Regions from separate parts of the Homo sapiens genome. Here all the other regions are linked to region 6. Evidence: promoter capture Hi-C in 16 types of primary human blood cells and fetal thymus (Javierre and others, 2016). All regions are on one chromosome and are shown on one strand. The core of a region is centred on a gene start or on the middle of the fragment in contact, and the rest is flanking DNA. Distances in the headings are between cores, read along the strand shown. Region 1 overlaps VOPP1-DT (VOPP1 divergent transcript). Region 2 overlaps VOPP1 (VOPP1 WW domain binding protein). Region 3 overlaps VOPP1 (VOPP1 WW domain binding protein). Region 4 overlaps VOPP1 (VOPP1 WW domain binding protein). Region 5 overlaps VOPP1 (VOPP1 WW domain binding protein). Region 6 holds the start of MRPS17 (mitochondrial ribosomal protein S17). Region 7 has its middle 86 kb from the start of LANCL2.

Region 1 (4,025 bases), core at 741-3,240, 360 kb before region 6:
CACCCGAGCTCTGACCCACCCCTGGTTCTCTGAGTCCTTCCCTGCCTCCTTCCAGCCCAGAGTTCACCTGACATCTGGACTCCTTCCAGGGCACCCTGGGAATGACAAGCTGCCGGGACACTCAGGCCAGAGAGGAAAGGTGGTGAGGGAGACCCCTGGCCACCAATTCTCAGGAGGCCCCTCAAATGCCAAAGCTGTCTGGGAGGCCCACAGAGACATTTTCTGAGCAGAACAGAGCCTGCCCTAATGCTGTCCACACCCACGGGCCGAGGCTTGATGTGACCTTGTTCCTCTTCTGGAGCCCAGGCATCTACCCTACAGCACCCACTGCACTCCCCCCTTTTCCTCTCAGGGTTTCCAAGGGGAGAGCAGCCCCCGTGGCCCCCCATATGTGGTGGGACCTCAGCTAGGTCTGTTCCCAGGAGAGAACGGCTCCCAGACCCTGGAGTTAAGTCTGTCTGGCTCTCTTCTCTCAGTCACACACCCCTGCCTCTGGCTCGCATGTCTGGAACAGGTAGCTGGGGACTTGAGGGGGCTCAGAAATCTCTCTTTTTAATTTGGCAGCACGGATGGCTGTCGCTCCTCACCTCTCCTTTTCTTTTAGGGTGTCCATGGGGTTCAAGGGAAGGATGTTCCTGGTCTGAGGGGCTTCCCAGGAGAGAGAGGCCTCCTAGGCACTGCTGTGAGTGTGACTCCCAGAGCCCTGCCTGGACCAAGGACCAAGTGACCTGAACCCCTCCCTGACCCTGACCCTGCTCCATGCCACTCCCCACTCCCATCTCTCTGAACCTATCTCCTCTCGCCAGCCCTCACCCTTCTCTTTTCTGTGAAGCTCCACCTTCCCCAAATCTCTGCTTCAGAGTGTGGACCCAGCTTGAAGAGGAATGAGGTCCAGTTGGCCCCCTTACCCTGCAGGGAGCCTGGGGTTCCTGGGGAGTGGGAGGAGGGAACTAGGAAAGGGGGTGTTGAGGCAGGGTGGAGGTGGCATCCAGATCTACGCAGGTGCTGTGGGACTGGGCAGAGGGAATCTAGAGTCAGCCAGAATGCAGCTGATTTGGGGCTCTTCTCCTGGGAATTGTGCTCTGAGGGCCCTGGTATGAGTGGGCTTGGGTCTTCCTCCCTGGGGATCTCACTCATCTCAACTTTCAGGGTTCCCCCCTAGGGAGTGAGGTGCAGCAGGATCAAGGGACCCATTGCCCCCCGCCAGGGTGCCCAGGCCCTCAGGAACCCCCTGGATCAGCAGGAGAGACAGGTGTCCCAGTGAGAGTGGGGACCTTGGGAGTGGTTCTTGGGGAGGGGTCTGTGGGCTGAGGGGTGATGGGCTATGAAAGGTTTCCTGTGGGTGTTTGAGGGTGAGGGTCACCTCCAGGCCATGACTCCTCCTTCCTGCCCCACAGGGTGAAAAGGGCCCCATTTGTCTGCCTGGCTGTGATAGGGTGCAGAGTCCTGTGTGACTTCCTGGTCCTGCTGGGCCTCCAGGTGTGGCTGGAGAAGATGGAGACCAAGAGGAGAACCCCAGAGAACCCGACCAATCTTCTCTCCACATGAGAGGGCTGAGGTGGGCTTGACTCCTGAGCTCTATCATTTCCTCCCTCTGGTATCTCCTGTGCCTTCTCCTCCAGGATGAGGTGGGGGACCCCAGGAAGAAGGGCATCAAAGTGTCCATGACCTTGACGCCCTGGCCTTTAACCTCATTCCCTCCTGGTTCCTCCCTGCCTTGGTGTTTCTGACTCTCGTCTCTCCCCCAGGGCCCTCCTGGACCCCCTGGACTCACTGGTCCATGGAACAGCCTGTAGCAGTGGTGAGTGAACCCTCGGCCCCCACGCAAGGCCCTGGCAGCCTCTGCTCTGCCTTCAACTCCCCTTTGCCCCTGAGGCTGGGTTTGGGAGTGGGGTCTCTGGGCCTGGTACCCAGCTATGTATGGGGTTCGTGAATAGAGAATGCCTGACCCATGACCCATGTCTATGTCCTTGTCCCTGCTTCTCTCCTTCCCCAGGGAGCAGATTGGGAGCCCAGAGCTCAGGGACCCCAGGGACACTTTGGAGCCAGAGTGTGGGGAGCCAAAGGCAATAAAGGTAGAACAGGATTCATGAATCTATAGGTGAGATGCGGCTGGGGACGGGCTGAGAGGCAGTGTCAGGATGGGGTGATGTGTGTCCCAGACCCTGCCAGCAACATGCTTTAAGGACTGGGTTGGTGGGGGCAGAAGCCTGGGGGCCATGTGGGGTCTGAGTGGAGGGGCTGTGGGACCCATCAGTCTAGGGCTGTGCTTTGGGTGGGTGGTCACCTGGGTCCATGCTTTCTGCACCTGCATAGCGTGTGCCAGGTCCCTCTGGGGAGAAGGGAGAAACAGGAGATGTGGGTCCTATGGTGAATGTGACCCCTACTGACCCCAGACCCCAAATGGTCACCCCTGCCTGGCCAGCCCCCACCCCACTGCTGCCTCCCTGCCCTGACTGCTCTTCCTCCCTCCACACTCCTTCATTGTGCCATTTCACTTCCCTTCCCCACCTCTGGTGTATCTGTTCCCCTGCAGGGACTACCTGGACCCAGTGGCACTGGTGTGAGTCATCCCAGCCCCTGCCACTTCAGAGCAATGAGTCTGATCCTCTGCGTCCCTTTCCTCAGATCATAAACTCTTCGCCCCTGAGAAGCCCCTTCCCCTGGGAGGCCCCCACTGTCCCACTGCCATAACCTTGGGATGCTCATCTGGGCCTCTGCCCCTGCAATAACCCCACCTCCTGAAGCGATGTCACCTATTTCTCTTCCTCTTTCAGGGTCCACAAGATCCCCTGGGAGGTGTTGGGGCCCTGGGTCCCCCTGGAGAGAAGGTAATTGGGAAAGGGATGAAGGGGACCAGTCTTGTGGATGAGGAATGACAGTTGGATTTCTGCCAATTTTTTGTTGAGGAGACAAAAGAGAATAAAATGTGAGAAATACCAGGATTTTGTGAGGGGGCAATGAGGTTTTTGACCCCAATCTCTTTGCTCCTGGAGCCAGGAGAGTCAGGATCTCCAGGAATCCAGGGTGAGCCGGGTGTCAGGTGAGTGACAGCTCCAGGGCCCTGCTTCAGAATTCCCTTCACCCCTCTCAGCTGCACCCCCCCTCTTTTCCTGTGACTTCCTTGAGTTGTAGCTCCTCTGCGGCCAGGAGTCTCTGCTCCCAACCATCCTTGGAGTGAGGCTTTCCACCCTGTCCTTGAACGGAAGGGGACCAGGGGACTCCCCTTATAGGCTAGACTTTCTATGTGTATCCCATTGTCCTCAAGGGCAGTAGGGAGTGACTAAAGGTGTCTTGGAAGCAGGGGCTGCATCCCTGTTCTTCAAGACCCTCTGTGCCCTCCACTTGTTCTGCAGGGTACACATGGGGAGTGTGGGGGGAAAGGAGAGTCAGGGCAGCCAAGTTTCTGGGAATATGGGTATCTGTGAGTAAGGATCTTGGACTGTGGGGAGCCTGGGAATGGGGGGATGCCTGGGAGGGAGGCTCTGGGAATGGGGTATCCTGGGAGGATGCATGGGATCTGGAGTCCAGAGAGAAAGTGAGAGATACCCTGTGGCTAATACCATAAGGCATTAGACAGCATGAAGTGCTCGAGGTGGGGATAGGGGTGCAGAGACCTTCTTCCTAGGGAGGTGCCAACAGATGAGCCTGTAGGGAGGAAGAGGGTCTCATATGCCTGTGGGAGTCTGTGTTGGGTGGGCTTATGGGGCTGTGACCCTGACTCTTGTTCTCCCTCTGGATTAGGGTCTTGGTTTTCCTGGAGACCCTGGCCCCCCAGGAGAAGGTGGCTCATGTGAGTCTTACTGACAGAGGGGAAAGGATGAAGAGGTTGGGGCTTCTGTGGGGTGCCTCTGTGCAACTGATGGGCTTAGATGTTGGGAAGCTGGAGATATGGCAGGGCAAGCAGGGGAATGCAAGGCTTAGCAGTTTTAGGGGTGATGCCAGCTGGGTCTGGCCTTGCTTCATCCCTGCAGGACCAGGACAGTGTTAACGGTGACTATGGCAAGGATGGTGAGCCAGTACAG
Region 2 (3,884 bases), core at 1,289-3,788, 380 kb before region 6:
AGCCTTTATAGCTGTGCCCAAAGTAAAAGAAAGCAAAAACCAAGGAAAGCCCCAGGTCTGGGCCCAACGCCCACAGGCCTCCTCAGACACCTGGACCCAGGCTTTCCCCACTTCAGAGCAGAGCTCTTGCCAGCCGGTTCATTTATTGCTGCCACTTCTCACCCATGACCACCTGGCCTCCCGTGGAGTTTCCAGAGACAGCAAACTCCCTGCAGGATTCTTTTTCATTCAAATTGCATGTTGCCTGGTTTCTAAAAACTCTTAAGAGTGGGTGGGCTGAAAGGTTTATTTCAGGAAATTGGCAGCCAGGGACTGCCACATTTGTTGGAATTCCAGGGCACAAAAGACATTTGGCAAGAGACAAAAAACACTCTTAAACATAACTCAGTTCTAATTTCCAGACTCCCAGGCATCAAAATACACAGAACTTCAGAAAAATACTCAGTGATCTTATTATTTTTCCCTAGTTCAAAGATAATGTCCACTTTGCAACCCTCTCTAAGAGACAACTATTCCTTTTTTTTTTTTTTTTTTGAGACAGTCTCACTCTGTTGCTCAGGCTGGAGTGCAGTGGCACAATCTCCGCTCACTGCAAGCTCCGCCTCCCGGGTTCACGCCATTCTCCAGGCTCAGCCTCCCGAGTAGCTGGGACTACAGGCGCCCGCCACCACGCCCAGCTAATTTTTTGTATTTTTAGTAGAGATGGGCTTTCACCGTGTTAGCCAGGATGGTCTCGATCTCCTGAGCTCGTGATCCACCCGCCTCGCCCAAAGTGCCGGGATTACAGGCATGAGCCACCGCACCCAGCCTGACAACTGTTCCTTTTTCTAGTCCAAGAAGATCTGTTCTTTTGCCCAACAGCATTGAAGCACAAAGCAACGTGGCTTAAGCGTTTCCAGCTCTTGGTTCCTGGGAAAGATCAGAAAGATAATGAGTAGTCCCTTAACTAAAATAAGTCTATCTCCTTGGAAGCAGAGGCACTGGTATTGGTGAGTTTTACACTAAATAGCATACTATACATTTCTGGGCTCACTTCAGTAAGAACAGAGCCCTTCAAACAAATACTAAGTAGATTTCAAAAGTGTAACCAACCAAACCTCTAGAAAGAGAATGCAGTGACAATATCTAGAAAACAATGCACACAACAAAAAGCCCCAGGGAGGTGCATATGCTTAGGGCCTCATTACTCTCGGGATTCAACTGAAGTGTAGTCAGTTTTAAAACCTTTTTTTTTCCTTTTAGTTTCTAAGGAGTTACTGTGTGAAGGCCACTGAGAATAACTTCAGCAGGGCTACTAGGAGACAGCTTAGTACTTTCACTCTTCCTGTAAGGATTGTTTGCAGGACCTCACTTCAGCCAGCTGGCGGAACAAAGGCATAGAACCTTAGCATTTTATGAACCAAAAAGGCCTCTGAGGTTCCCTACTCTTAGCCACCCTTAGAATCTGCCACATTCGTGGCCTGGGTCCCTGGATCATAACCAGCTGGCACAGAGCAACAGGGGAGAGGGAGATAAAATCAGGGCCCTCACTGGCTGTGCATGTAATTCACAGGAAACTCTGAGTTAATAGAAAAGAAAGGTCAGTCCAGTAATGAGCTTCCAAGAAGCCTCCCTAGGAGAGGGATGGTGCTGTCAGCTGCTGCCGGTTCCTCCCTGAAGCCCTACCTGGGCTTCAGGAGGGGAACACAACCAGGGTTTCTCAGGAGAGTCCTGGTGATGCCCACTGTCCAGGCACAGCTCTTAACAACATCCTATTTCACTCTTCAAAGTGCCACCGTTTGTAGGCTAAATCACATGGTCTTTCTAAGGAAGGGTGACTGAGTTTCTAAGGGGAATACACTTTCCAGGGCCACCACTGCCCTCGCGATGTAGAGCATGCAAATTCCTAACATGTTCCTGTGTGCGCAGACGGCAGAGGAAGCAGAGCATCGAGGTGGGGTACACACTGGAACCAGACTGCCTGGGTTAGCATCTTAAGCCCTCACACTTAACAGCAGTGTTAAGTGTTCACTTCCCATTTGAAACAAAAATGAAGATAAAAGTAATTGCTAGCAGGATTAATGAGATAACGTGTAACATTTATAGAACAGTGCCTGGCAGTTACCCTGGAGCACTCTATGAATGTTTAGTAAGCAAACATAAATATGCAGTTCTATGTCTAACAGGTAAGTAAATTTCTACAAAGGGATGGTGAGGCAGGGGAGGAAAGCACTTCTCAAAACAGTCTTTGGATTGCCCTTCCTACTCAAGGACCTCTCACTAACACAGAAACCCCTGCGCATGTGAGATTCTGGATGGTGCTAGATAGGGCCAGGGTGCTGGGGGTGGGAACAGAGTCACCACTGCCACAAGGCCACCCCTTAATTTCAGGTGGTTTATGATCAACCACGTGGCAAATTTATACACTGAAACCAGCTCAGGCAGAACAAAGGAACAAAGACAAATTTCCCAGGTTGCAGCCGGCAGTCAGAAGCCAGAAGCCACCAAATAGCTCCCTGGGTTGCTTTTATGCACTCAACCTGAAGAGAGCCATTTGCCATGGCACATGCTCCACACCTACGACTGCACATCCATGTATGTGATTCAGGACTTCAGAAGCATCACAGGTATTCATCAGAGCACCCCACCAGAGATGAAAAAATCTCAAATATAAATCTCATACATAAAATTTCATGTGATAAATGATGAAGAAATCTCCTTAACTCCTCAGAGAGACGCCTCTCCAGCACAAAGTGGTGGTACTTAGGATAATCATCATGTCAAAGTGGGTGACATCACACTGTCCCCTCTGAAACAATCATCTAATATTTGACTGTGAAAGTATCATCTTAGGCATTTAGGTTTCAGTTTTACATCACACTTCTGCCTTTAAGGTCGTTTCAACTTTGCAGACATGATCTGAACTCCTATTAAGAGGATACATTCCTATGCAACGAAACAGCTATTTTGGAAAGAATGGAGTCACTGAGGCCGTCTAGGCTACATATAGGGCACAGAACCACTCAGACAGAAGGCTTGGGAGACATGGGTGGCACAAACTAGAATGAAAGAAACGCTAAATAATTTCATCAAGTGCCGATTAAAAAAGATTGCAGGGCCGGGCGCGGTGGCTCACCTTGTAATCCTAGCACTTTGGGAGGCCGAGGCGGGCGGATCACCTGAGGTCAGGAGTTCGAGACCAGCCTGACCAACATGACGAAACCCCGACTCTACTAAAAATGCAAAAATTAGCCGGGCATAGTGGTGGGCGCCTGTAGTCCCCGCTACTGGGGAGGCTGAAGCAGGAGAATAGCTTGAACCCAGGAGGCGGAGATTGCAGTGAGCCAAGATCGCGCCACAGCACTCAAGCCTGGGCCACAGAACGAGACTCCATCTCAAAACTAAAGAAATAAATAAATAAAAATAAAAAATAAAGATTGCAAGTATAGGTACACACATTAAGGTACAAGCACATCTGTTTTCATGCGATTACTGGTCTCTGATTCACTTCTTTGTTCTCTATGGTGAGTCACTCAGAGAATGTGATTCCTAAGGTTCTAAAATTCTGAATAAATGGAAAGAATGCAAGCAGAGGCACTCCACAAAAACATTAAATACCAAGCTACGGGGATATTTCCGAACAGAAACAGGAAGTCTCGGCTATGGCAGAGCCTGGAGCAAGGAGAAATTTGTCCACCAGCCTTCCTTTCAGGAAACACTTTTCCTCCAACATTTTGTAATAATTACTTTTTAATAAAGGGCGAAGACAAACTAGTAATTTCCAGCACCAATCACTAACTATTAAGGAAGATAGTTTCACAACTTCCTAAAACAGAGGCATGGGATTCATTACCTATTTCTTTTGACTTCATTAATTTAACGCAAATTTCCTTCAGAATAATGAA
Region 3 (4,153 bases), core at 890-3,389, 460 kb before region 6:
GCCTGGAGCCCCACCTCTGAACCTCAGCCTCCTGCTGACTTTGCCAGCCCCTTTCCACCACGTTCAGAGTTCTGCCCCAACCCACACCAACCCCCAGGACCACAATGCTGCCAATTTCCTCCCCTCCCCGACCAGAAGCCTCTTTGCAATGCACAGATTCTCTGCTTTCCCATGCTCATCAGTGATGCTGGTCCCAGCAGGAGCGCCATGCGAGCCCCCCTACACCCCAGAATATGAGCCACTGCCCCCCCTGCCCCAGTGGGTGAGTCTGGGTCCTCTAAATCCCTCTGCTTTTTCATCTTCATTAACAGGCATCCCACGCCTGAACCCACTTCCCCTCTCAGACCAGCAGAGGAAAAATGGGGCTCTGCTGAAAATTCACTAACACCCACCCTGCTTTGTGCAGATGCCTGCACACCTTGGCACTGCCCGGACAGCCTCAGGCATGACATTTACCCTGTGGACCACATGGGACATTGGGATTCCTCGGCTCCTCTCTCTCCCTGGACTGCCAAACTCTGTGTGGCCCTCCTCTCAGTCCCCACGCCCCCAGGGCCCATGCCACAGATAGTCTGGGATCTGAGCAGACAGCTGCAGCAGGGTGAAGCCACCCTCAGGGGAGGCAGGTGTCCAGACCAACAGCAGACAGGACCCTGCAGACCCCATTCTTTTGTTCACTATTACTCTGTCTAGGAAACAGCTGAATTCTTCCCAAGCTCAGCACTGTTAACAAATGATCCAGCCCTGGACCTGACAGGGAAATGATGGAAACTGTACACTACCGGGAGCCCTGGGAGCCTGCTTTCATATGACAGTCTGGATATCCTGGGATCAGCCACACCGTTGCAGGCCTGCAAGAAGTATAAAATGAAAAACGGATGGCAAACCAAGTCTACATTTTGGTCAGAGAAGATGCGCTGGGACCAGCAGCCACTCGCTGTAGAGAGCTGGGGGCTTACTTATTCTTAATCCAAATGGCTCTTCCGTGGGAAGCCTTCCTGGAGTTGTGCACCAGATGGAGTCTCCTACTTACATGGTTTCCTAGCATTCTCAACTTTCTCTCCCTCGCACTCATGATGGTCAGTCACTATAGAGTTGTTTGCGTGAAAGCTCACACGGGTGCTGGAGCTGTGCATGCAGCGGTGACTGAGGGCAGGTGTCCAGGCTGTGCAGTGTTTTGAGCTCCTGCAGGCGCCTCAGCAGGTGTGCAGTAAATATGGGCCAAGACAGCAATTCAGGCAGGTCTGCGCTCCAGGCTGTGACTGTAGTTGTGATGTATTCCGACCCTGGTTTACCAGGCTGCAAACCTGGGAGCTCCCACAGTTCATCCAGCCTGAGGATGAGGGCCGGGCATCTACTTGGTGCCTGAGACCATGAGTCCTGTACACAGCCCCGTGGGGAGCCCAGTGTAAACATGGAGCATTAAAGCTGGTAAAGCCCCTGGCAGGGGACCCAGGGAGAAAGTGGAGATGTGAAGCAGCCAGAGACAACTTCACTATGGGTACAACACAGAGCAGCACCTTGGAGGAAGGCATTTTCCAGGCAGAAGGAGGGCGTGTGCAGGCCTCAGTGCGATGCAGGACTAGAGAGAGGAGGTCGCTCAAACTGGACACAGAGGAGCGGGGATGGGTCTGAGGAAGCTGTGAATGCGTCCTCAGTCCTCAGCTAGGGACTGTGGACTTACACTGTGAGCCAGGTGAGCTGGCAGAGACCCTGCCGCAGAAAAATAGCACGGCCGATGTGCTTCTGTTTTTTGTTTTTTAAGACCCTTCTGATAGCCAAGTGGAAGACAGAGGAGCTGGTGGAGACCAGTGGCCAGCAGGCACTGCTCCAGGGTGAGATAAGGGATGTGGCAGATCTAATCGCCTGGTTGCTGGGGATTCTCCCAGACAGATGGAGCGGGGTTAGGTGGGGTGTGGGGCTGTGCAGAACAGAGGGATGGGACCAGAAAGGAGTGCACATAGGGATGCATTCTCTTCTCAAAACCCTGGCATGCCAGGGTTCAAAAGAATTATGCAGCTGCAGGCACAGTCTCAGCACCTCACCTACTCACCACAAGAGCCCCAGTTCACATGAGTGGTAGACTCTGAGCTCGGCCAGGACCACGGACCAGGGACATGTGGCCTTCTGCACTGGGGGCAGTGGGGCCTCCCATGCCAAGTGGGGCAGGGGCTGCTCCTCCCTGTACTAAAACCTCTCTGACTGATCCAGATGAGACCCAGTGAGTGGCGGCTTTCATCTCTCATTTTAACAGAAATTTTGCACTTTACCCTATGATGCAGCACAAATCTGAAACGATTCAAATATTTCCAAATATCAAAGGCTAAAATCCACTTACGGATTCAAAATGGTACTAACCTGACTGTAAGTTTAAGGCACAGCTCTCAGTGAACTGCTGTGGAAAATATATATTTTTCTGAGCAACATTTTTTAAAATAAAGAAAATTCTTTCTGAAAGGAAAACCCTGTGGAGTATCTGGTGGAAAAAAGCTGTAAAAGAACAAATATGCAAATGACTTTGCATCTTGATAACAGCCTGTTCTCAGGAAAACAGAAGAGAGAAGATAATTTTCTCCTATTACATTCAATCCCTCTACTTCTCTCCTATTTAAAAACCACTTTATTGAGGTCTGACTGACAGGCAAAAAGCTGTGCATGTTTAAGACCTACAACCTGATGAGTTTAAAGACAGGGGCACATCCAGAAAACCATAGCCATGCTCTATTCCATAAACATCTCTATTACCTACAAAAGTTTTCTCTGCTCTTCTTGTTATTTTTGTGTGATAAGAACATATATTAACATAAGACCTACCCTCTTAGCAAAATTTTAATTATACATTACAGTTGTATTAATTGTAGGTCCTACACTGTACAATAGATCTCTAGGACTTATTCATTTTTCTTAACTGAAACTTTGTAAAAGCGAAGGCATCCACTGCTCCTAGAACTGACCACCTATCCACAGTGTGCAATCAATAGACAGTCCCATCCCCAGGCTCCCAGGTGGAAACTGTGGCTGGGAGCATGGCGGTGCAGACATCAGCAACACCCCTCTGCCCAGCCTCACTCTACACCTGGCCAGAAGACCAGCGCTCTGATGAGCCGAGCCAGCCCAGCCCTCCAGGACCCTTGGCTCCCCGCTGTCATCAGAGAGCTCCCTGGCCTGTGTCCTAAGGAAGTCCACACCACCCACCACAGTATGTAGGAGTTTTAGATGGCTAAGGCAATGTTTTACAAGAATTAAGAAACAGCTAATTCATTTTGACCCTGGGATGTCACTTTGGGTGTTATGCACTAAACAGACTACATGTGACCTGTACAAGAATGTCTATTGCTATGGTCTTTGTAAGTATTTGGAATACTAGTAACTGCACAATGAATACTTGTTGAATGCATGAATAAAAGACAAAACATGAGAAAACAAAACAAATTATCAGCAATAATAAAATATCTAAGCAAATTACCATTTAGTAACATAATTAGTATCTAGTCCAGAAGCACTAAAAATGGCAGGGGTATTACCGCTCCTACACAGAAATTTATATGTGAAATAATGTTTAAGGAAAAGGGCAGAGAGCAAATAATACGCTTATACAAACTGCATCATATCACGTGCATATGTGGCACACTGATAACTGTAAGAATATGAGGTGACGGGCGTGCGATATACCTTACATTTGTTATCTGCACAAATGCACAATGGAGCTGGTCATCAGAACTAAAAAAATGAATAACACACCTGAGCGCTCTCTTCTGGCAGTACCCTTTCTGCAGCAGTACCCTTTATAAATGTTGGCAGACGACACACACTGTGGGGAGGAGAGACAAGGACAGGGCTGGCTGACCTGGGCCGGGATTTGGGGGCTGCCTGGTGTAGGACACATTGAAGGCTGGCTCCTCGATCAGCGGCGGGGGGTACATGCGCCTCCGGATGAAGAAGCCGGCTCCGCAGCAGAAAAGCACGCCCATCATCAGAAGGAACCTGAGGAGAGTACAGACGTGAGGGTGGTGCTCCCAGGTGGGGGCCCTGAGGGCTTGGCCCTACAGCTCAAAGGCCTCATGCACTCCTCGGGGGTCCGGGACCAATGACTCCCAAATGCACGAGTCAGAAGGCAAGGGCAGAGCCATGAGGCTCGCACCTCAGACTTGGT
Region 4 (4,363 bases), core at 163-2,662, 410 kb before region 6:
GTCCTGAAGCATTTCCCCAAAGTTTTATTTTAGCATAATACTTTCATAGTTCCAGGTCTTACATTTAAGTCTTTGATTTTGAGTTGATTTTTGTACATGGCGAGAGACAGAAGTCTACTTTCATTCTTCTTCATATGGATGTACAGTTTTCCCAGCACCATTTATTGAAGAGACAATGTCCTTTGCCCAATGGATGTTCTCAGCCCCTTTGTCAAAAATCAACTGGCTGTAAATGTGTGGCCCAGCATGCTTCTGTGTTAATCTGTAAAACACATTCTTAAAAGATTTTAGCTGACCAAAAGCGACACAAGAAGAAGAAAATATGATGAAATTGGAACAAAATAAATGCACACAATGGCATGGTTTTTATGGTTTGGGGCAGTAGGGCTGGTGGGGGAAGGAGATGGCCCCACACTTAGCTCCAGGCTCCTGAGGGCCAAGGCAGAACGGGGAACGCTGTTAGTCACAACATCATGGTGTCCATCGGATGAAAAAAACTTGCGAGAAAAGATAGTGTTTCTTGAAAAGAAAACAGTCTTTCTGATACTGGAATGTGCTGAAAACTTCTTTTTGGGTCTTCCCAAAAAGAACACAGCTCCAACTGGTGTGGAAGAGTGGGGGTTTCAGGGAGGACCTCACCAGAGGGGAAACTGAAACTGACGAATGTAATCTAACATTTAACTCTGGAGAGTGTTGTTGAAGGCTTCCGCAGAGTTGGTGGAGAGCAGAGTTGGTGGAGACCGTGGAACTCAAGCAAACATCTGAAATAAACTAAGCTAATGAAACCACGAGGCCATTTTGAACTCAAGGAAAATAAAAAAAGTTGTCCAATAAAAGCGCAATTTTAGTGTTCTACACTGGCTCAACAGTCAGCAAAACGTAGTCAAAATAATGATGATACTAAATGTGGATTTAACCAGATATTTTAAATACATTTTACTTTCGTGTAATCGGTACTGATATAAACATATATACTGAGAGGATAGAGGAAGAGAGATTAAATAATGTCTAGCACTGTTAAATCAAGAGCTAGAAGGTATGTGTATTATTTTAAAATGTGGAGGCAAATAGTAGAAGAACCAGCTAAATAAGAGTTGAAAGTAGTTCTTCTGAGAAGCAGACCACAACGGTGGGGCATGGGGAAGACTGTGTTAAGCTGTGACATTATTAAACTTTCCATTTATATACATATATTACTTTATTTAAAAATGAAATAAACTTGTTAAATACAGGAAAAGTCACCTATGGTCAATGTTCCCTGTGATCACTATTTCTTTAAAGGGGCACAGGTGAGACCACGCTAGGAGAAGAAAACTCTTTCATCAGGAGGGGCATCCCACTGAGTCACTGAAGCCCCCAGTGCTGTGAGGTCCAAGAACGTGCTGCTCTCCCCTGGGAGGCCTGTCTTGATGTCAAGATCCCACCAGCCCCAGACAAAGCAGCACACAACTGACCCATGGCAGGAGGGAGGCACTCAGAGGCGCAGCCAGGAGGGAAGAAGCCTGCTCTCCCCATCCTCTTTCTGGCCCAGTATGCATGGCTGAATTCACCTTAGGATAAACACAGGTATGACTACACTCCAGTATGACTAGAAAAATAACACAGGCGTGACTGCAGTTGGAATCACAGCTTGCGGGCCACACTGGTTACACATCCACCGGGACTCAAGAGGGATCCACTGAGCTGAACACTGCCTGCTCGTGCTCTGTGCCTAAGGCTCCCTGTCTGGCAAGCCCCATGGAAGCTCACAGATCTGTCATTTGTGGAGAGCTGCAGCTCTTGTGTTTAAAAAGGAATGATTTGGCTGGGTGCAGTGACTCACACCAGCACTCTGGGAGGCTGAGGTAGGCGGATCCCTTGAGCCCAGGAGTTTGAGACCAGCCCGGGCCACACAGCAAGACCCCAACTCTACAAAAAAAAATACAAAAATTAGCATGGTGGCACATGCCTGTAATACCAGCTATTCAGGAAGCTGAGGTGGGAGGACCACCTGAGCCTGAGAGGTCAAGGTTGCGATGAGCCGTGATTGCACCACTGCACTCCAGTCTGGGTGACAGAATGAGACCCTGTCTCAATTAAAAAAAATAAAATAAAGAAAAGAAAAAGTGAAAAAACGGAAGGATTTACTAAGCCCAGCTGTTCAATCAGCTCACAGATACTCACTAAGCACTCCACAGCTCTGGCCTGTGCTAGAAGACAAGGACTCAGTCATGAGGAGGGCACAGGTGGTGCCATCTCCTGAGTTACAAGACAGTCGAGGGAGATGTAGACAGGATCTGACCCATGAATGAAGATATAATTCCCAGGTAGCTCACTAAGTTGAGAATAGTTGTACAAAGAGAACACTTAAGGGAAAGGCGGAATTATATGCTCTATGGACCGTGAGGTGGTAGGATGCAAGAAGTTTTGGCAAAACTGAAATGAGCCTAAATCAATACGCCATGATGAACTGAATCTCCCAACAGAAAAAGGGACATTAATGGAAAAACTGGAGAGATCCAAATAAAGCAATTTTAATTAATAGCAATATACCAATGTTGGTTTCCTTTTTAGGCAAATGCAGCATGGCAATGTAAGTTATTAAATTAGTGGAAACTGGGTTATACAGCAACTCTGTATTTGCTCTGCAAATGTGCTTTGCAAATTTTCTATAAATCTAAACTTATTCCAAAATTAAAAGTTGATTTAAAAAATATACAAATATATTGTGCTCCCCCGCCAAGAAATAAGTGATACCACCACGACCACCACCACCCCTGAATTAAGGCTCCAGCTTTGAAGCACAGAGCCCAAAGGGAGGGGCGATGGAGCAGAGGCCAGCAGGCCGAGAGCTCAGGCCATGCAGAGCCTGGGAGGCTAAGCCATGGGATCAGGTCTGCATCCTAAAACCAACAGGAAGCACCTCCACAAATGGGAGCTACAGGCCTTGTCCCCAGTGCCCCTGAACATGGAGAAGGACAGCCTTCATTTCACTGATGAGCGAGTCAGAGCAGAGATGACTCAGCAACACAGCTCTCTCGACCCACATTCTGCCAACCGCCCAGACTGGCAGAAGGCCATGCAATTTGTAATCCCTCTGACCTGGATTTTAGCAGCCCCAGGTCAGCTGTTAAGACTTGGGAGAAGCCGACAGAGCTGTAGGAGGGAGTGGTGGGTTGGGTCTTGATTCCACTGTTCTCACCTAATGCCAGCTAACATCCAGATCCAACCCTGTCCCACCTCTGAGGCTGGGGACGGGGGACAAAGGGGCTCCAGGGGTTCCACAGATAACAGGACCCCAACAGGACTGAGGCTACCTTCCCCCTGGGGCTACATGCATTCATGTAGAAATGAATAGGAAGAGTGGCAGGCAAGGTGGGCTCCAAGGCTTTCTAAGGTTGATGCCATACGCACACCAAGGCTGGGAGTGAAATTTGGGCTAATTAACAGTGACATGTAAGTACAGGAATCTTTAATTTAAACGTAAGCCTCTGCATACCAATAAACCTTGCCAACTTTTTGGGAGTTACAGAACCTCATGTAAACTTGAGAAACAACAGGAATACACCTTTACAGAGAGCTCTGGAGCACGGAACTAAGTATGCCCATCATGCAACCCTTTACTTGACTAACAAACCAGTTGAGTTGGGAATGATCGTCTCCTACTAGCTACCAATAGACATGTTTTGTTTGGCCCATGATAGCTTTGAGATAAAGAAACTTTACACAAAATCTAGATATTCAATTTTTCCTGAAAAATCCAAAGACTCATTAACCATCAGCTAGACCTGAGTGGTGCCTGGTTCCCTCTTCCCCGCCATATCTTTCACACAGCAAGATCTTTTCCATTTTACCACACTTCCCATCACTCCCTAGTAGATGTGGCTGGGCAGGCTGTGCCCTGAGCCTGCAGGCATGTGCATTTACTACCCTGTGCACAGAGAATGTCTCTTCTTCCAACTTCTCTTAAAAGCACACCAGCAGTTTCAGTCACCTGTTTGATTCCCCTCCAAGGGCTTTCTAAAAATTTCCACCAAAATACCCCGACAGCCACCTAAGACCGTGACCGCAGATTCTGGGAATGGGAGGCAGGTGAATGGAGATGTGGTCTTAAATGACACTCAGTGGGATGCAAAATTTGTCTGACATCCCAAGCTTTACCTTAGAAGTTCACGCCCTTGCATTCTATTTCGTTTACACATGTTGTATTCTACTCCATTATATATTTGCATTAAATTTCACACATAATGTTTTCAATTATCAATTAAAAGGTTGCCTTTAACCCCCAACCCCTAAACATGTCAAGTAAAATGGGGGCTCCAGGAAGATCTGCCAGGTTTATGCTGCCTGTGTCTTCCCCTCCTCCCAGCAGACCCCAATGACT
Region 5 (4,233 bases), core at 1,308-3,807, 440 kb before region 6:
GATCCGCCTGTCTTGGCCTCCTAAAGTGCTGGGATTACATGCATGAGCCACTGCACCCAGCCACAAGCTTCTTTTTTTTTTGAGATGGAGCTTCGCTCTTGTTGCCCAGGCTGAAGTTCAATGGTGCGATCTTGGTTCACTGCAGCCTCTGCCTCCCAGGTTCAAGAGATTCTCCTGCCTCAGCCTCCCAAGTAGCTGGGATTACAGGTGTGCGCCGCCATGCCTGGCTAATTTTTGTATTTTTAGTAGAGACGGGGTTTACCCATGTTGGTCAGGCTGGTCTAGAACTCCCAAACTCAGGTGATCTGCCCACCTCAGCTTCTCAAACTGCTGGGATCACAGGCACTTTGAGCCACTGTGCCCGGCCCCACAAGCTTCTTTATAATATTACTTAATACACTTATGCATTTCCAGCCTTAATATGGCATAACCTCCTGGGTCATATCCTGGCTTTGCCTTTAGGAATCCAACCTACCCCAGGAAAGCTCTCTCATTTGAATGAGGCAGCAGAAGTCCCAGCCCATACATGTGGATAAAACTCAAACCAGGAGGTGGTTCAGGCAGAACTCCAGCAGCCTCAAGAAACACCTGTGAGGAGTGCTGTGGAAAGTAGTGGCTCTCAGCACAGGCTCACGTCAGAACTGTCCAGCAGCTTTAAAAACACCCGTGCCTGCTGGCTGGGACACACTCCTCAGGAGATTTCAGTACACGGCAGGGCTGAGAACCAAAGACCTAAATCTGGAGCCCTCTTGCCTGTGACTCTTTTCTTGGTGCTGGGAAGGAACATGTGGTGGGTGAGCTGGTGGGTGGGGGGTGTTGTTCTGGCTTTTCTGAGCAGGTATATTTTTTTTTAACAGCTTTATTGATATATACTTGATATACAAAGAGCTGTGTACAATCTGATGAGTTTGGTCATATGCAAACACCCAAGATACCACCACAATGAAAGTCTAGGCATAATCTGATTACTTGTAATATTGTACGTCTGCGAGAAAATAACATTTTTAATAGAACTTTCATCTTTCCAAACACAAGATTTTAGACCATTTTATCTGTCTTGCTTTCAAGTCAAAAACTTCACAGACCTGACTATGAACTCATGGTTCTTTCTTTCCTGTCAACCTCAGTTGGTAATCCACATGATGTCAGAATTGTCCTCCTGGCCTGACATGGTTTCCCTGACGGGCAGGGAGGTGCCTGTGTGTTGAGACGTGTGGTCCCATTTTGATGATGTTTCAACTTTTATTTGGTCAACACATCCCATGGCGAAGTCAAACATCTCTGGGTTCTAAGGAGGGGGCCATCACTGCTTTGATGAGGCCTGAGCCCGAGACGTTGAGGGTGGGAAGATGGCTGCCCTGTCAATCATTCCTTCAGAGACACAGTTATCACCAGAAAATACCTTCTCTGACTTGTATAAACCCAAACTAGTTGCATTCAGGGTGGCATACAGGATTTACCTAGGGAAATTTTACTTGTATTTCTACCATGGGAGAAAGCATTACAAATACTTACTAAAATCACTAATATTAGCAGACCAAATGGGGTAAAAAGTGCTCATTTCTTTGCCATTTTAACCCTTGAGGAGCTGCTGCCTTGGAGCCCAGATGCACCCAGAGTTAAAGTGAAGAGGTGAGGTAAGATGGACCAAGAAGCTCTTAAATTACTGCTGAACTTTGGTAACTACGGAGTTTTTTGTTTTGTTTGTTTTGACACAAGGTCTCACTGTGTCACCCAGGCTGGAGTGCAATGCTGCAATCATAGCTCACTGCAGCCTCAAATTCCTTGGCTTAAGTGATCCCTTCACATCAGCCTCCCAAGTAGCTAAAAATACAGGTGCACACCACCACGCCCAGCTAATTACAAAAATTTTTTCTACAGATGAGGTTTCACTATGTTGCCAGGCTGGTCTCTAACTCCTGGCCATAGTGATCTTCTTGCCTTAGCCCAAAAGTGTTGGGATTACAGGTGTGAGCCACTGCACCTGGCCCAGAGTTTTTGAAACTCCACCTTTGTGTTTCTGGGGTAGAGGTTTTCCCTCTTTCTCCTTTCAGTAAACTGCTGATCATTTAAAATTAGTTCTATTCAAGCCTATCCTGAAAAACAATCCTCCTAGTTTCTGGTTGACTAAATATAAGGTTAAAAAAATAAATTCTGGCCATATGTCTCTTTCAGAAACAGTTATTACCAGAAACCACCTTCTCTGGAAGGTGTTTTTCATTTTCCATACTAAAGTGAAAAACAGAAGTCTGCCTATGAGCTCAGAAGTCTGCCTATGAGTTCATAGTGAGATCCTGTCTCTATAAAAAAATCTTTAAAATTAGCCAGACGTGGTAGCATATGCCTATAGTCCTAGCGACTCAGAGGCTGAGGTGAGAGGATCGCTTGAGTCAAGGGGTTTGAGGCTGCAGTGAGCTAGTACTGCACCACTGTGTTCCAGCCTAGGTGACAGAGCAAGACCCTGTCTCAAATTTATTATCAATTTTAATTTTATAATAAATTTCCTATCATTGAAATCACACAGGCATGATAAATACTAAAGTAATGAGCTGAGTTTGGCAATGAGATCAGGAAGGGAGATGAGATTCTAGTACCTAAAAAATCTGGAAACCTACACTGAGGTTCACACCTGGCTTACTTTCTCAGCTCTATTTTTACTTGAGTTGGTCTTAGTCCATTCAGGCTGTTATAATAAAATACCACAGCTTGGGTAATTTATAAACAACAGAAATTGATTGCTCATAGTTCTGGAGGCTGGGATGCCCAGGATCAAGGCCCAGCAGATTCAGTATCTAGTCAGGGCTCCCTGCTTCATAAATGATGTCTTGCTGCTGTGTCCTCACAGGGCAAAAGAGGGCAGGGGAGCTCCCTGCAACCTCTTTTGTAATCCCATTCACGAGGACAGAGCCCTCATGACTTAAGTCACTTCCCCAAAGGCCCCACCTCTTAATACTAATACATTGGGTGTTAGGTTCCAACATAGGAATTTTGTAAGGACACACATATTCAGACTATAGCAGCTGGTTAGCTGTTATAAGCAAATGCTCAGAACTCTTAAGTCTACATTCCAGCTCTGGACTACATCCTGCCCTCTTCCACCTCTGCTGCAAAAGTGAATTCCTCACTGGCTCCATTTCCTGGGTATTCTGCAAGAACTCCAAACTCCACATGCATATATGACATTCTCTGCTCAGTCTTCTATTGAATCTTTCCCGGAACCTATTCTTTTCATGGTCTCTCTCTGTCTTCCCAACCAGAAACCTCTGATTTATTTGACTCCCTTTACCTCTATATCGACTCTTCTGTGAGATGCTTTTCATGCCCACCGCCTGTTCCTCTGCCCTATTTCTACAGGAGTTGGACTCTGTCTTGCCTTTACTACAAACACAACCTCCTCCCCTTTAGACCAGAGGACCGTGTCGTCATACTGTTCCTAGACCAAAATGAGGGTCAGGCTGCTATTTCTTGTGGCCCAATAATAAGATGCAGATGAACTGGGGAGGAAGAGAATTTTTATTTCTGCAACCAGTTACTGGTAGAAGGCCTGGAAATTATGGCCAGACCAACTCAAAATTACAAAGTTTTCCAGAGCTTATATACCTTCTAAGCTATATGTCTACCTGTAAGTGTGCATCATCTAAAGACATAAGTGATTAACTTCTTTTACATTATAACTAATGTCTGAGTCCTCAAGGCCTTCTTCTGGAGCCTCAGTAAATTCACTTAATCTAAATGGGTCCAGGTGCTGGGGTGATTACCCTTATCTTGTCTCCTACTAAATCACAAGAGGTTTGGGGAGTTCATTCAGACCGCAATAAACTTGTTTGTGGAGGCCTGGGGAGTTTCTTCAGACACCAAATAAAACTTATTTAATCCTAAATGGGTCATGTTAAGAATTCCTTCATTATTTTGTCATGCTTTAAGGCCCAGGAAAGGCCTAGGCAAAACTCCTGGTGGGCTTTTGTTACATCCCAGACTTTATATAAGGGCACTGGCTTTTTTTTTTTTTTTTTTTTAGCTTTTAATATTTAACTTAACCACTCAGTCAGTACTGAAACACTTGTTATGGAGGCCTGTGTTGGTGAGACCTGGCCTGCCACAATGCTGCATGCAGGAGGGAGTCTCAGCCCCTCAGACGGCGTTTGAGACTCTTCTTGCTAGGCTTCTCCCTCTTTTTCCCATCTCATCTCCTGCCATCCACCAGGCACCCTGAACTCCAGCCCCATGGTCCCC
Region 6 (4,167 bases), core at 874-3,373:
GAACTCCTGGCCTCAGGTGATCCGCATGCCTCGGCCTCCCAAAGGGCTGGGATTATAGGCGTGAGCCACTGCGCCCAGCCTTAAAGTTTTAATTTTTGAACCATTTTAATGATTTACACATTCAAAAAATAAGATTAAAAGGATATGGTTTTTCCTATCCTCGAATACAAAATTGTATACAAACATATAAAAATGAAGGCCAGGCACGGTGGCTCACGCCTGTAATCCCAACACTTTGGGAGGCCGAGGCGGGCGGATCATTAGGTCACAAGATGGAGACCATCCTGGCTAACGCGGTGAAACTCCATCTCTACTAAAAATACAAGAAAAATTAGCCGGGCGTGGTGGCGGGTGCCTGTAGTCCCAGCCACCCGGGATGCTGAGGCAGGAGAATGGCGTAAACCCAGGAGGCAGAGCTTGCAGTGAGCCGAGATTGTGAGCGAGACTCCGTCTGAAAAAAAAAAAAAAATCTAATTGTATAGAATATTGTTACAACCACACAGAAGAAAAAAAAAGAATCCCAAGAAATGTTGAACACAGTGCTGTCATTGTACACTCTAAGGACAAAAAGAACCACAAAAAATAATCTCACGCATCACTTAGAAAGTTTGTTTTTAGTCGGGATATTGTTAGTACAACTCCAAAAGCATATAGTGTATACTATAGGATTTAGCATTAATCATTGATGTTGTCGGGGTAGGGACCAGAGTTCTAACTGTGGAAGAAAGGAGATAAAAATACGGAACTGGTGAAGCAAAAGAAGAAACCCACTGGTGGCTCATGCCTGTAATCCCAGCACTTTGGGAAGCCGAGACGGGCGGATCACGAGGTCAGGAGATCGAGACCATCCTGGCTTACACGGTGAAACCCCGTCTCCACTAAAAAAAATACAAAAAATTAGCCGGCCTGGTGGCAGGCGCCTGTAGTCCCAGCTACTCGGAAGGCTGAGGCAGGAGAATGGCGTGAACCCGGGAGGCGGAGCTTGCAGTGAGCCGAGATCGCGCCAGTGCACTCCAGCCTGGGCGACAGAGACAGCCTCCGTCCCAAAAAAGAAAGAAACCCACTGCTGTTTAAAGGTAGGTGTGTGTGTGCGTGTGTGTATGTTTCAATGTATCGATAGCTACATCTGCTGAAATAGCCTACAGGCAGGAAAATCCCAGTAGCAAGTTGCTCACCTAGCACTCAGAGCTTTGTTGCTAAGTACCACTCCCCACTGATATTTTTCGTTTGAAAAACTTCTGATACAATAACTGGTCAGGGAAAGTATAGGTAAATCTGGACCAGCCAGGCACAGTGGCTCATGCCTGTAATCCCAGAACTTTGGGAGTCCGAAATAGGTGGATCACTTGAGGCCAAGAGTTCAAGAACAGCCTGGCCAACATGGTGAAATCCCGTCTCTACTAAAAATAAAAAAAATTAGCTGGACGTGGTGCCAGATGCCTGTAGTCCCAGCTACTCAGGAGGCTGAGGCAGGAGAATCCCTTAAACCCAGGAGGCAGAGGTTGCAGTGAGTCAAGATCATGCCACTGCACTCCAGCCTGGGCAACAAGAGTGAGACCCTGTCTCAAAAAAAAAAAAAAAAAAAACACTTTTAGGCCAGGCACGGTGGCTCACGCCTGTAATTCCAACACTTTGAAAGGCCAAAGTGGTTGGATCACTTAAGGCCAGGAGTTCGAGACCAGCCTGGCCAACATGTGAAACCCTGTCTCTACTAAAAATACAAAAATTAGCTGGGCATGGTGGTGCACGCCTGTAATCCCAGCTACTTGGGAGGTTGAGGCAGAAGAATCGCTTGAACCCGGGAGGCAGAGGTTGCAGTGAGCAGAGATCGCGCCACTGCACACCAGCCTGGGCGACAGAGCGAGACTCCGTCTCAAAAAAAAAAAAAAAAAAAAGAAACAAAACAAAAGAATGAAAGAAAAGTCCGAAACCTCCTGCGCCACTGTCCACTAGCTGCGCGCGTTAGGAAACCAGAGGTCAGCGCCCCCGACCCCGCCACCGCCGCGGGTCCCTTTAAGGGAGAGTGGGCGGGGTCCTGCCTTTAACTCCGCCCACGGCTAAGGAGATGCACGGCCTACGAGAGGGGTAGTGTGGGACTGAGCCAATGCGTACGGCGTGACGCCATCCCGCTGCGACCGGCGCTCCCCGGGGCAGGTGGCTGCATAGTCTTGGCGGAGGTGAGTCTCGTGGTGGAGGTGAGGGCAGGCTCCGGGGTATTGCTGCCGGGGGAGGATTTGCTGGGGACCCAAGGCACCCTCGCGTGAGAGCCCTGAGAGCGAATCGCTTCGTCTGACCTCGGGGTTGTCTGGGGCGAGGGCACGAATCACCCCAACCTTTCCGAAGCCTGGTGGAATGGCTTGTGAACTGATCTCAAAAGCAGCCCAAGTCATCCGTCGCTGGGCCGGGGAGGGGGACACCGCGGCGGCCCCGCCGAGTGCTACCTGGGCACTGAGCCTGTGGGGAGAGGCGACCCAGCGGGGTGGAGAGAGATAAGGGACCAGTAACGTCCAGCGTTTGTCCGTGGTATTGAGCGTTCTGTGGGTCAAATTCTCAAAGCACTCCTGCGAAATAGGCCTGCCCATTTTGCAGAAGGGGAACGTGAGGCTTGGCGAAGTTAAAGTTACCGCTTTGTAAGCGCTGTAAAGATGAGAGGTTGGGTAGTGGGGAACGTGTAAGCATCTCTGAAATGGTGATTCAAGCCGGGCGCGGTGGCTCACGCCTCTTAATCCCAGCACTTTGGGAGGCTTGAGGCGGGCGGATCACCTGAGGTCAGGAGTTCGAGACCAGTCTGGCCAACATGGTGAAACTCTGTCTTTACTAAAAATACAAAAATTAGCTCGGCGTGGTGGTGCGGGCCTGTAGTCCCGGCTACTCGGGAGGCTGAGGGAGAAGAATCGCTTGAACCCGGGAGGCGGAGGTTGCAGTGAGCCGAGATCGCGCCACTTCACTCCAGACTGGGCGAAAGAACTAAACTTCATCTAAAGAAAAATACATATGGCCGGGCGCGGTGGCTCACGCCTGTAATCCTAGCACTCTGGGAGGCCGAGGCGGGCGGATCACGAGGTCAGGAGATCAAGACCATCCTGGCTAACACGGTGAAACTCCATCTCTACTAAAAATACAAAAAAATTAGCCGGGCGTTGTGGCGGGCGCCTGTAGTCCCAGCTGCTCGGGAGGCTGAGGCAGGAGAATGGCGTGAACCCAGGAGGCGGCGTTTGCAGTGAGCCAAGATCGCACCACCGCACTCCAGCCTGGGCGACAGAGAGAGACTACATCTAAAAAAAAACAAAACAAAACTGTTTCTGGGTGGAGGGGGGAACGAAAAAGAAAAAAACTGTTTCTGGACTAACCTGGACAGTTCTTGTGACAAAATTCATGTGGCATCATAACCACCAGAATATGAGACTTTGGAATTTGCTTTTCAGGTGACCAAAGCCACGTAATGTCCGTAGTTCGCTCATCCGTCCATGCCAGATGGATTGTGGGGAAGGTGATTGGGACAAAAATGCAAAAGACTGCTAAAGTGAGAGTGACCAGGCTTGTTCTGGATCCCTATTTATTAAAGGTGAGAAACATTCTTGTTTCCGGGTGGCTTTGGTAAATCACCACCATGTCCTGGGTCCTAAGCAAAAAAACATTTATCTCTCAGTAAAGATGTCTTGTCTCTCATCTGCTTTGAGCCAGGCATTTTGCTGGTCTGTAGGTATAACACGGTTTACACATTCCAAGAAAACAGTTAATGTCAATCCACTCTAACTGCTGTAGTCATTCTGTATGCAAAGTACTGGCCGGATGAGGTGGCTCACACCTGTAATCCCAGCACTTTGGGAGGCCGATGCGGTTGGATCACCTGAGATCAGGAGTTCGAGACCAGTCTGGCCAACGTGGTGAAACCCCGTCTCTACTAAAAATACAAAAATTAGCTGGGCATAGTGGTGCGCACCTGTAATCCTAGCTACTCTGGAGGCTGAGGCAGGAGAATCTCTTGAAGCCGGGAGGCGGAGGTTGCAATGAGCCACAATTGTACCATTGCACTCCATCCTGGACAAGAGCAAAACTCTGCCTACCATGCACAATTCACAATAGGGTTTGTGCTCCTATAGGAATCTAATGCCGCTGCTGATCTGACAGGAGGTGGAGCGCAGGCGGTAATACTCATGCTGGCTC
Region 7 (4,106 bases), core at 1,521-4,020, 500 kb before region 6:
CAGGACAGATGGGGAGACGACGCCCCAGCCTTCCCTCCCCAGGCGCAGGGGAACCCTGAAGGCAGCTGAAGGTTGGACGAAAAGCTGCCCCTCCCTGTGACTGGCTGGGGTCACCTGGAAGGAGCCAGCTGAGCTCCGACCAGGTTCCTGCAGAGGCGTTCTGGCCACCGAGCCTGTCCTGGGAGAGGAGAGCAGCGAGCAGCCTGGCCTCCCGAGGGGACAGGAGCCCTCCACCCCCGCACTGTGCCCTCTACCGCCCCTGCCTCGGTAGGTCCTGCCACCCTCCTGCGGCCCCTGCAGCCCCTCAACACGCCTACTTCTGGGCATCAGGGATGTCACTGGTGCCAGAGGTCCCAGAGACCTTTAAGTACAAACCTGTCACCCTTGAGGGGAGAAACAAACATGTCACCCTTGAGGCGTAGCACCCAGGTGGTCAGCAGACCTTTGGAAATGCGGTTGGATGAGAAGCCAGGATTTCTGCCCTCTGTCCGCATCTTACATTTCTGTGCACCCACACTGACAAGGATGGTAATAAAGAAAAAGACGAGCAACGATTGCATTTCACCTACTTCCATTTGCTGAGAACATCTCACTCCTTCCAGGGACCCCTGAGCTTCCCCTTGGGAGTTGGAGTCACCGACTTGTGGCTGGGGGCACATTTCGGGCAGGAGACCTCAGGCTGGTCCTAGTGTTACCTCCCCGACCTGGGGGTGTTCTTGAGGTCCCACCAGTCCTCCGCCTCTTCTCTTGGGTGTCCCCAGCAGCACCTGGATGCCATTTCAGGGCTGACCACCCAGCACTGGAACTTGTGTAACCACCCAGAACCCAGGAGCTGGGCATTTCCCTATGCACTCTGGTTCTGCACTGTCCAGTAAATCACTCACCAGCGCTACCAGCTCTTATAGCCCTTGAAATGTGGCCACTCCAAGTGGAAGTGTGCATTGAGTATGTGTTATACAAACTGGATTTTGAATATGGAAAAAAGTAACATTTCTCACTCACATACTTTTATATCATTACATGTTGAAATAATACTTTGATATATTAGGCTGAATATCATTAAAATAATTTTTTTGATTAATCTTTGTAATGAAAATTTAAAGCAATGCACTGGTTCACATCATACCTTTAGTGGACAGCACTGGTAAAGAATATACATCTAAAAGCTTTTCCCCACGTAAGCTTTAAAGTAAGATGCAAAATTCCTTTCTTCTACAAAAACATGAAGGATTGTCATTGGTAAGGGCTGCGCCCAGGCAGTTTTCACAGGTACACACTTGTTATCAATCTTCTGTTCCCATGTGCACTGAATACTAGGTCTGTGGCAAATGATATCAGCACTGTTTGTGATTTCTGGAGTCCAGGGAGAAAGACAAAGAGAGTGCTCTCCAACATTCCTGTCACTGTTGAAAACAGACCAAGCCACGTTGCTCCTCCTTCATTATACTCTTGAGACCTGCACAAGAACATACATCTTTTTTTGTAAAAGTGAAGCCTGGATCTTCAGGGCTGGCATCAGAGGGAGATCTCCTAGGGAGGAGATTCAACAGGACTCAAATCTAATTCCCTTCACCTTCTTCTTGCGGGTAGGGGGTGTCTTGACAATCATCCTTGCACCCACCACACCATTTATAGGAGGGCACTGGGCCCCTTCCACACAGGCACAGGAGTGGAACGAGATCCTTTCTGGACACTTCCGCACAGCCCATCTGAGACAGGAACATTACAATAAAAAGTTATGGGGTAGGGGGCAAAAGAAACGCCTGAAGTACAGGAATACCTGGGAAATGTTGCAGGTTCAGTTCCAGAACACCATAATTAAGTGAACATTGCAATAAAGTTTGAGTCATACAAATTTTTGGTTGCCCACTACATATAGAAGTTGTTTACATTATACTGTAGTCTATGAAGTGCACAACAGCATTATGTCTAAAAGCCACAATGTACATAGCTTCATTAAAAAATACTTTATTGTGGCCGGATGTAGTGGCTCACGCCTGTAATCCCAGCACTTTGGGAGGCAGAGGCGGGCGGATCACAAGGTCAGGAGTTTGAGACCAGCCTGGCCAATATGGTGAAACCCCCGTCTCTACTAAAAATACAAAAATCAGCTGGGCGTGCTGGCGGGTGCCTGTAGTCCCAGCTATTCAGGAGGCTGAGGTAGGAGAATCACTTGAACCCAGGAGGCAGAGATTGCAGTGAGCCAAGATCGTGCCGCTGCACTCCAGCCTGGGCGACAGAGCGAGACTCTGTCTAAAAACAAACAAAAAAGCTTTATTGCTAAAAATGCTAACGGTTATCTGGGCTTTCAGTGGGTCATAATCTTTTTGCTGGTGGAGGGTGTTTTCCCAGTGTTGACGGCTGCTAACTGATCAGGGTGGTAGTTGCTAAAGGTTGGACTGGCTGTGGCAATTTCTTAAAATAAGACAACAATGAAGTCTGCCGCATTGATTGACTTTATTTCAGGAAAGATTTCTCTGTAGCATGCGACGCTGTTTGACAGAATTTTACCAATAGTAGGACTTCTTTCAAAATTGGAGTTAAACCTCTCAAACCCTGCCACTACTTTACCAACTAAGTTTATGATATATTCTGAATCCTGTGTTGTAATTTCAACAATATTCACAGCATCTTTAGTAGGAGTAGATTCCATTTCAAGAAACCACCTTCTTCACTCATCCATAGGAAGAAATACCTCATCCATTAAAGTTTTACCATGAGATTGTAGCAATTCAGTCACAACTTCAGGTTCCACTTCGAATTATATTTCTCTTGCTATTTCCACCACATCCACAGTTATTTCCTCCACTGATGTCTTGAACCCCTCCATGAAGGGGTTCAAGTCATCCATAAGGTTGGAATCAACTTCTCCCAAGCTCCTGTTAATGTTGGTATTTTGACTGCCTCCCATGAATCACAAATGTTCTTAACAGCATCTAGAATAGTAAATCCTTTCCAGAAGGTTTTCAATTTACTTTGCCCAGATCCATGAGAGGAATCACTATCTATGACAGCTATAGCCTTACAAAATGTATGTCATAAACAATAAGACTTGAAAGTCAAAATGACTCCTTGATCCATGGGCTGCAGAATGAATGTGTGTTAGCAGGCATGAAAACAACAATAATCTTCTATGTCTCCATCAGAGCTCTTGGGTGATTAGGTCTTTTGTCAATAAGCAATAATATTTTAAAAGGAATCGTTTTTGCTGAGAAGCAGTGCGCTTAAAACACTAAGCTAACCATGCTGTAAAAAGATGTGTTGTCATCCAAGCTTTGTTGTTCCATTTATAGGATAAAGGCAGAGTAGATTTTGCATAATTCTTAAGGGCCCTAGGATTTTTAGAATGATAAACGAGCACTGGCTTCAACTTAGCTCACCAACTATATTAGCCCCTAACTAGAGGGTTAGTCTGTCCTTTGAAGCTTTAAAGACAAGCGCTGACTTTTCCTCTCAAGCTACAAAGTCCTAGATGGCATCTTCTTCCAGTAGAAGGCTGTTTTGTCTACATGTAAACTCTGTTGTCGAGTGTAGCCACCCTCCTCAGTGGTCTTAGCTAGATCTTCTGCATTACTTGCTGCAGCTTCTACATCAGCACTTTCTGCTGCACCCTGTACTTCCAAGCTATGGAGATGACTTCTTTTCTTAAACCACATAAACCAACCTCTGCTAGCTTCAAACTTTTTTTCTGCAGTTTCCTCACCTCTTTCAGCCTCCATAGAATTGAAGACTATATCAGCATTGTGTGTCACTGGAATAGCGCTTTTAATTTCCTTCAAGAACTTTTCCTTTGCATTCACAAGTTGGCTACCCGGTGCAAGAGGCCTAGCTTTCAGCCTGTTTCAGCTTTTGACATGCCTTCCTTACTAGACTTAATCATTTCTAGCTTTTGATTTAAAATGAGTGACATACAACTCTTCCTTTCACTTGAACACTTATAGGCCATTGTAGGGTTACTAACTAGCCTAATTTCATTATTGTTTGTTGTGTGTCAGGGAAGAGAGTGGGAAAGAGATGAGGGAATGGAGGGTAAGGCAGTCAGAATACACGTTTATTGATTAAGTACACCATCTTGTATAGGCAGAGTTATTGGCACCCTATAGTAC

Evidence for each region. Contacts are between HindIII fragments. The CHiCAGO score rates a contact against its expected background, and 5 or more counts as called.
Region 1: a contact is called between a fragment that was not itself captured here and the fragment with the promoter of MRPS17 in region 6, in 10 of 17 cell types (neutrophils, monocytes, fetal thymus and 7 more). The highest score is 13.8, in neutrophils.
Region 2: a fragment that was not itself captured here is called in contact with the fragment with the promoter of MRPS17 in region 6 in 9 of 17 cell types (naive CD8 T cells, fetal thymus, total B cells and 6 more); the score reaches 11.1 in naive CD8 T cells.
Region 3: a contact is called between a fragment that was not itself captured here and the fragment with the promoter of MRPS17 in region 6, in 1 of 17 cell types (naive CD8 T cells). The highest score is 6.2, in naive CD8 T cells.
Region 4: a fragment that was not itself captured here is called in contact with the fragment with the promoter of MRPS17 in region 6 in 1 of 17 cell types (monocytes); the score reaches 5.3 in monocytes.
Region 5: a contact is called between a fragment that was not itself captured here and the fragment with the promoter of MRPS17 in region 6, in 4 of 17 cell types (monocytes, neutrophils, naive B cells and 1 more). The highest score is 7.0, in monocytes.
Region 7: a fragment that was not itself captured here is called in contact with the fragment with the promoter of MRPS17 in region 6 in 4 of 17 cell types (naive CD8 T cells, total CD4 T cells, fetal thymus and 1 more); the score reaches 5.9 in naive CD8 T cells.

What each region holds. Positions count from the first base shown.
Region 1 is chr7:55,588,907-55,592,931 of GRCh38, forward strand. It overlaps VOPP1-DT (VOPP1 divergent transcript), which reads left to right. Exons shown (of 17, transcript NR_187585.1): 6 at 90-514; 7 at 605-1,252; 8 at 1,398-1,558; 9 at 1,749-1,801; 10 at 1,997-2,075; 11 at 2,537-2,563; 12 at 2,778-2,831; 13 at 3,001-3,043; 14 at 3,745-3,793; 15 at 3,975-4,025. Among named protein-coding and RNA genes, the nearest start is that of VOPP1-DT, 18 kb to the left of the region's middle. The HindIII fragment of the contact is 8,588 bases long and covers 1-4,025 here.
Region 2 is chr7:55,567,566-55,571,449 of GRCh38, forward strand. All of the region lies in intron 1 of VOPP1 (VOPP1 WW domain binding protein), which reads right to left. Among named protein-coding and RNA genes, the nearest start is that of VOPP1, 3.0 kb to the right of the region's middle. RefSeq lists silencers at 1,114-1,163, 1,311-1,605. The HindIII fragment of the contact is 5,325 bases long and covers 1-3,884 here.
Region 3 is chr7:55,488,435-55,492,587 of GRCh38, forward strand. VOPP1 (VOPP1 WW domain binding protein) reads right to left here. Exons shown (of 5, transcript NM_030796.5): 4 at 3,848-3,984. Among named protein-coding and RNA genes, the nearest start is that of VOPP1, 82 kb to the right of the region's middle. RefSeq lists an enhancer at 1-415. The HindIII fragment of the contact is 8,751 bases long and covers 1-4,153 here.
Region 4 is chr7:55,543,994-55,548,356 of GRCh38, forward strand. All of the region lies in intron 1 of VOPP1 (VOPP1 WW domain binding protein), which reads right to left. Among named protein-coding and RNA genes, the nearest start is that of VOPP1, 26 kb to the right of the region's middle. RefSeq lists an enhancer at 1,937-2,096. The HindIII fragment of the contact is 5,440 bases long and covers 1-4,132 here.
Region 5 is chr7:55,506,575-55,510,807 of GRCh38, forward strand. The region is part of intron 2 of VOPP1 (VOPP1 WW domain binding protein); the gene reads right to left. Among named protein-coding and RNA genes, the nearest start is that of VOPP1, 64 kb to the right of the region's middle. The HindIII fragment of the contact is 4,371 bases long and covers 373-4,233 here.
Region 6 is chr7:55,949,754-55,953,920 of GRCh38, forward strand. It overlaps MRPS17 (mitochondrial ribosomal protein S17), which reads left to right and starts at 2,124. Exons shown (of 3, transcript NM_015969.3): 1 at 2,124-2,177; 2 at 3,426-3,565. The coding sequence starts at 3,443. RefSeq lists an enhancer at 2,177-2,236. The HindIII fragment of the contact is 16,512 bases long and covers 1-4,167 here.
Region 7 is chr7:55,449,535-55,453,640 of GRCh38, forward strand. It overlaps a transcript of VOPP1 not described here. Among named protein-coding and RNA genes, the nearest start is that of LANCL2, 86 kb to the left of the region's middle. The HindIII fragment of the contact is 1,001 bases long and covers 2,271-3,271 here.